Linked DNA regions of Homo sapiens: region 2 is linked to region 1. Evidence: promoter capture Hi-C in human tissues and cell types (Jung and others, 2019). All regions are on one chromosome and are shown on one strand. Each heading gives the region's core, a stretch centred on a gene start or on the middle of the fragment in contact. The rest is flanking DNA. Distances are from core to core; before and after follow the strand shown.

Evidence for each region. Contacts are between HindIII fragments. The study calls those that stand out against the background at their distance.
Region 2: a fragment that was not itself captured here is called in contact with the fragment with the promoter of SNAPC1 in region 1 in 1 of the 25 tissues and cell types used here (dorsolateral prefrontal cortex).

The regions. Positions count from the first base shown.
Region 1 is chr14:61,760,935-61,764,384 of GRCh38, forward strand. It overlaps SNAPC1 (small nuclear RNA activating complex polypeptide 1), which reads left to right and starts at 1,486. Exons shown (of 10, transcript NM_003082.4): 1 at 1,486-1,654. The coding sequence starts at 1,527. RefSeq lists enhancers at 1-224, 225-968, 812-901, 969-1,712, 1,713-2,456. The HindIII fragment of the contact is 10,492 bases long and covers 1-3,450 here.
Region 2 is chr14:62,090,477-62,094,185 of GRCh38, forward strand. All of the region lies in intron 7 of SYT16 (synaptotagmin 16), which reads left to right. Among named protein-coding and RNA genes, the nearest start is that of LINC00644, 48 kb to the right of the region's middle. The HindIII fragment of the contact is 3,249 bases long and covers 402-3,650 here.

The DNA.
Region 1 (3,450 bases), core at 236-2,735:
GTGTTGGGATTTCAGGCGTGAGCCACCGTGCCCAACCAGTAGCTGTGATTAAAGTAGGGTACAGTCAAAGGAATAGGTCAGAGGAGGAAATCGCAGATTGATGTGAAGGCGTTGGTAATGTTCTGGTTCCTACACAGGTGAAAGGTGTACAGGTGTTTAACTGCTATGCTTTTTATCTCACACATCGCATAAATTTTTCTGTGACATAAAATATTACATAACATTTAAAAAACAGGTCAAGAGGGCAGGGTGCAGTGGCTCACGTCTGTAATCCCAACACTTTGGGAGGCCGAGGGGAGCGGATCACCTGAGGTTAGCAGTTCGAGACCAGCCTGGCCAACATGGTGAAACCCTGTCTCTACTAAAAATACAAACAAAACAAAACAAAACAAAATCCGGTTGGAGTGGTGCATGCCTGTAATCCCAGCTACTCGGGAGGCTGAGGCAGGAGAATCGCTTGAACTCGGGAGGCGGAAGTTGCAGTGAACCGAGACCGCGCCACTGAACTCCGGCCTGGGCAACAAGAGCGAAACTCCGTCTCAAAACAAAAAACAAACAAATCCAAACAAACAAACAAACAAACAAAAACAGGTCAAGGATCAGAAAAGTAAAGTGAGTTGACACTCCATTTACACACAGAAAGCCCAATGTTTTTCTATTATATCAGGATACCTCTTCTAAAGAATGATAGCTTACCTTTCAATCAGAGAAATGATCTAAAGTTCAAAATGTTACTCCATAGCTAGCTCCTGGAGGAAGGAAGCTAGGTGGCAGCGTGTACACAAAAAGGCAATTCATCCAAATAATAATATAACAAGAATATAACAAGTAGGTATTTTCTGCTAAGTGCTATGTAGCACAGGGGTGAATGCGTGGCAGGGCAGGAGGAGGGCTGTTTACAAGAGGGTATGAAATGCAGCTCTTCTTTTCAAGAGTGGTTGCAGAATGCCAGGGCTACAAAGAGAGGGCCGCACATTAAGCATCGTATTATGTGGGTACAGAGTATTAGGGTTCTCGATGACCAGAAGGAGAATGAGTGCAGTTTGTTTCCTAGCAAGCCTTCTTTAGCTTCTCTTCCCAAGTGGGAGTGGGGTTGGGGTTGGGACTGTTCTTTCCTAGCTCAAAAGTTCACTTATGTCACACTAGGGTCAGTTTAAAGGAGAGTGCTAGTAAGGGTAAAGTCAAGTTACATAACCTAGCGGAAAATGAAGACCTAAAACCGCTCGTGAGCAAACACAACACTTTAGACGTAAACCTCTTCCAAAGAAGGGTGGATCTCAGCACTCTGGGTGAAAGCAATCTCAGCCAGTAAAACATCAGAACGCTTTCACGCACGCGCAGTAAGCACACGACCGGTGGCAAGAGCCCGGATAAAGGCGGAGCTAAAGGTGCCGGATAATGCATCACGGAGCGCGTGTGCGCACGCCGTAGGGGGCGGGCCGTTCGGGCTTGGTTTCCTGGGCGACCACCGCTGGCTAGTCCGTTAGAGGCGTGCGGGCTTCGGAGGCGTGCGGGCTTCGGGTGCCATGGGGACTCCTCCCGGCCTGCAGACCGACTGCGAGGCGCTGCTCAGCCGCTTCCAGGAGACGGACAGTGTACGCTTCGAGGACTTCACGGAGCTCTGGAGAAACATGAAGTTCGGGACTATCTTCTGGTGGGTGTTTCTTGTCCACCACCCGCCTCTCCCTGCCCGCAGGTGGTGTAGAAAGTTGCCTCCTTCCCGGCGATATTGCACTTGTGAAGGGCTGAGAAGAGCGGCAGTCACCGAAGGTTGCCTCCATGACTCCTGGACCTTCCCCTGTGCTCAGGCAACGCGCTTTCCCTGCTCTATTTCATTGTGCCCTGATGGTTGTTGCGGCCTCCTCCCAAATATGCGTCTCTGCCTGGCCTCCCTTCTAAACTCCTCTCTCCCATCTCCACCCTGAGCCAGGCCACTATCATTTGCCCTTCCCCAGTCTTGTTCTAGGACCTGATGTTTAAAAACACACAAGCAAAGACAAAACCCTTCAAGATTGAATTAATTTTTCCTCCAACAACCAAAGTTGTCTTTTTTTTTTTTTTTTTTTTTTTTTTTGAGACGGAGTCTCCTTTTGTCGCCCAGGCTGGAGTGCAATGGCGCGTTCGCGGCTCAGTGCAACCCTTCGCCTCTCAGGTTCAAGTGATTCTCTTGCCTCAACCTCCGGAGTAGCTGGGATTACAGGTGCCCGGCACCACGCCCGGTTAATTTTTTGTATTTTTAGTAGAGACGGGGTTTTACTATGTTGGCCAGACTGGCCTCGAACTCCTGATCTCGTGACCCGCCCGCCTCGGCCTCCCAAAGCGCTAGGATTACAGGAGTGAGCCACCGCGCCCGGCCCAAAAGTTGTTTTTCAAAAGTGCAAATTTGATTATGTCACTCCCCGACTTATTACTCTGTAGTGGTGCCCATTGCCTTTGGGATAACGCTTGAATTCTCTGACTTGCCAAGACCATTCCTCACTGGCCTTTGCCTATCTCTCCAGCTTCGCCTGCCAGTCCCCTCCATGCACTCACTTTCTTGCTCCAGCAGCTGCTTTTTTTTTTTTTTTTTTTTCTTTGGGCCCTCTACAGGCTTTTCCTAATCCTGGAGTTTCCACCGCAACTCTCTTGTTTTGTCCACCTTATTCTTCACTCAGGGTTAAGCTCAAATGACATCCTCGGGGGAAGTCTTTTTTGCTCTTCTAGACTGAGTACGCTGTTCATGTTTTTTCCCCGCATAGCACCCTGTTTTTATTTTATGTCACCGCTTTCCACATTTTGTTGTAATGGTATAGTTGAAAAGGCAGTGTGGGATTGTTAAGGGCATAGGTTATGGAACCCAATTGGCTGCATTTGATTGCAGGGTCCGCTATGACTTGGGGCAAGTTACTTGAGTTTCCATATCTGTAAAATAGAGGCAATGATAAACCTCATAGTAGTTGTGAAGATTAAATGAGCTGATATATCAGAAATACATTCTAAGTGCTCAATAAATGTTCATTATTATTATTTTTTTTTCTTGAGACATAGTCTTGCTCTGTCACCCAGGCTGGAGTGTAATGGTGCGATCTCCTATCACTGCAACCTCCACCTCCCGGGTTCAAGAGATTCTCCTGCCTCAGCCTCCCGAGTAGCTGGGACTACGGCTTGTGCCACCAAGCCTGGCTAATTTTTGTATTTTTAGTAGAGACGGGATTTCACCATGTTGGCCAGGCTGGTCAAATGTTCATTATTACTACCGTTTTAAAATTTTCCTTTGACTAGACTGACCTCTGTGAGGACAGTGACTGGATGAATCTATTTTTATTACCATAGTACATATAATATTAAAAAGGCGAAATAACTGATTTTCTGAATGAGTTAAACCTTATGATTAAAACTTTTTCTGAACAAAATGTAAAAACTCATTTTCTCTCTGTCAGTGTAAGCAAATTACCTTTGTAGTTTTTTAAA
Region 2 (3,709 bases), core at 776-3,275, 330 kb after region 1:
AGACTCAGTGAAAATGAACATATATGAGACATATGACCTTCTTTTAGAATCCTGGTCCAGTTTTTGTTAAATATAGTGTATTAAGAGCCACTGTCTGCTCAGAGTCATGGCCATTTCATATGAAAATTTAGATGAGGCACTAACTTATTGAGTGCATAGGTGATATTCCTTTTTCTACATCAACTCTAATTCTCATGATGATATCAAAGTTAAAAAATATTAAAAGCAATAGAAAAGAAAAGATAGTTACTATGGTGTATTAGTCTGTTTTTATGCTGCTGATAAAGACGTACCCAAGACTGAGTAATTTATAAAGTAAAAGAGGTTTAGTGGACTCACAGTTCCACGTGGCTAGGGAGGCCTCACAATCATGAAGGAAGGCAAAAGGCATGTCTTACATGGTGGCATACAAGAGAGAACTTGTGCAGGGAACCTCCTCTTTATAAAACCATCAGATCTCATGAGATTTATTCACTATCATGAGAACAGCACGGAAAGACCCACCCCCATGATTCAGTTACCTCCCACCGGGTCCCTCCCACAACATGTGGGAAGTATGGGAGCCACAATTCAAGATGAGATTTGGCTGGGGACACAGTCAAATCATATCACATGGTATGTCAATTATATTGCAATAAAGATGTTAAAAAACCCAGTTACCTATAGAGGAATCACAGTAAGACTGAGGACAGACTTTTTAACAACATTAATGGAAACCAGAGGACAATGGGAAAAGAATATCAAAGTATTGGGAGAAAAATACTCAGCTTAGCATTTTGTTCCCTGAGTGAAGGAAAAATAAAGATATTTTCCACAAAGTTTGACAGAGTTTTTCATTAGGAAAAAGCAACTAAATGATGCAATTCAGAAAGAAAGCAATTGAAATTAGAAGGAAGTAATGGGAAGCAAGAAGGAAGAATGAACAAATAAATTGGTTAACATGTAAGTAAATATAGGCCTGCATGGATTGCCTAAAGCAAAAACAGGAGCGGTAGGAAAAATGACTACTATTGCGGGTACTACCACAAAATGGTAATAAAATTCTAGGCAGAAATTACATAAATATGGGAATGGGATAGTGACTCCAAATGATTTTTGACAAGGCTGCCGAGACCATTCAAAGGGAAAAGGATAGTCTATTCAACCAATGGTGCTAGAAAAAGTGGATCTCAACCTGCAAAAGCATGAAGGTTGGATCCTTACCTAACACCATATATAAAAATGAACTCAAAATGGATGAAAGACCTAAATATAACACCTAAAACTATAAAACTCTTTGAAGAAAACATAGGGCAAAAACTTTATGACCTTGGATTTGGCAGTGATTTCTTGGATATGACAACAAATGCATAGGCAACAAAATTAAAAATAGACAACTGGACTTCATGTAAGTTCAAAAATTTTGTGCATCAAAAGATAATAGAGTAAACAGACCACCCATAGAATGGGAGAAAATATTTGCAAATTATATATCTGATAACAAACTAATATCCAGAATATATAGAGAACTCCTAAAACTCAACAACAAAACAGTGTGAGTTTAAAACTGGATTAAAGACTTGAGTAGACATTCCTCCAAAGTTGATATATAAATGGCCAATAGAAATATGAAAAAATGCTCAAAATCAATCATCAGGAAAATGCAAATCAAAACTACAGTGAGATACCACCTCATACCCATTAGGATGGCTACTATAACACACACACACACACACACACACACACACACACACACACACACACACACACACTAACAAGTGTTAATGAGAATGTGGAGAAATTGGAGCCCTTGTCCATTACTGGTAGGAATGTAAAATGGTACAGCTCCTATGGAAAACAGTATGACAGTTCCTGAAAAGATGAAAAATAGAATCACCATATAACTCAGCAAATCCATTTGTGGGTATGTACTCCAAGGAATTGAAAGCAGGGTCTTGAGAAATTTGTACACCCATGTTCATAGCAACATTATTCACTATAGCTAAAATGTGGAAGCAGCCTAAGTGTCCATTGAGGGATTAATGTATGAGCAAAATGTGGTATATACATATAAGGAATACTATTCAACCTTAAAAAGGAAAAAAATTCTGACATATGCTGCAGTATGGATGAACCTTGAGGACATTATGTTAAATGAAATAAGCCAGTCACAAAAAGACAAACACTGTATGATTCCACTTATAAGAGGTATTTAGAGTAGAAAAAAAAATCATAAAAGCCAGTAGAATGGTGGTTGCCAGGGGGTGAAGGAGAGGGAAATGGGGAGTTATCATTTAATGGATATGGAGTTTCAGTTTTTACAAGATGAAAAGAGTTTTGGAGATGGATGGTGGTGATTTTGTACAACATTATGAATCTAATACCACTGAAATGTACACTTAAATATGTTAAAATGGTAAATTTTGTTGTGTATATTTTAACACAATTTTTTAAAATTGAAAAAAATACACTGGAGAGAGATCAGAGGATATTGCAAAACCAGGTTATGAGTAAGAAATATGACAGCTGGATGTTTAGACTGATGTTGCTTCAAGGAAAAGAAATACTAGTATTAAAATGAAGAGATTAGCAGGCTGTATGTATGTGGGAGCAGGGAGTTTATGGGAAATCTCTGTACCTTCTGCTCAATTTTGTTAAGAAACTAAAACAGTTCTAAAAAATTAAGTCTATTTAAAAAATTAAGAGATTTAAAAATAGAAGAGAGTAGAGATTTTGATTAATTTTAGACATTAAACCAAGTGAACATATTAAAATTTTAATCTTTTAAACCAATAGAGGGAATAAATGAGAATAAAGCAAATGTAACCAATTCAATAGAAAGCAGAGAAAATACTTTTTAAAGTGTAGAAAAATGTGTGATAAATAGAAAGCACAAACCAAACAGTAAATATAAATCAAAATATATCAGTAGTCATAATAAATATAAAGGGACAAAAATTGCTATGTAAAAGATAGATATTAGATTAAGGTCTCTCTCTTTTTCCCAGTCCCTGCCTGCCCCTCTTCCTCACACTGCCTCATACTATAAACACACTACAGTTTATACTGGGTCCACCTAGCTTTATAATATATAAGGAAGGAAGCCATTAATGACCAATGAATTGGGCTTAGCTCAGGAATGCAAGAATGATTTAATATTAGCAAAATCTGCTAGTGTAATTTACCATATTAACTGGCTTACGAGAAAGCCTTATGATAATCTCAGTAGATGCAAATAGAAGCTTTTGATTAAAAAATAAAATTTTTGAAAAAATTACGATTATCTCAATAGATGCAAAAAGTTGCTTTTGGCAAAATGCACTCTTCATTACTGACAAAAATCTTAGCAGATGTGTAATAGAAGATGTATTAATATAGACTAGGCTGTGATGTAATGATTAAACCCTGCTGACTCAGGGGCTTCACACAGCAAAAGCTTATTTCTCCTTTGCATTACAGTCCAAAGTAGTTATGTGACTGTTCTCTAAGCTGTAACTCAGACATACAGGCACTCCCCGTTTACTGAGGTGATGATATTCAAAATGTGACCTCCATTGTTGGCATGGAAAGGGAAGAGACAGCATGGGAGATTTATTGCTTGGGTGGGAGTGGTTGAATATAACCATGATTGAAGGTGACATTTATCACTTCTCATATTCCATTTTTCAGAACTCAGTCACATGGCTCAGATAATTCAATTCTGGTGTAAAGACCACACTGTTAATTTGAT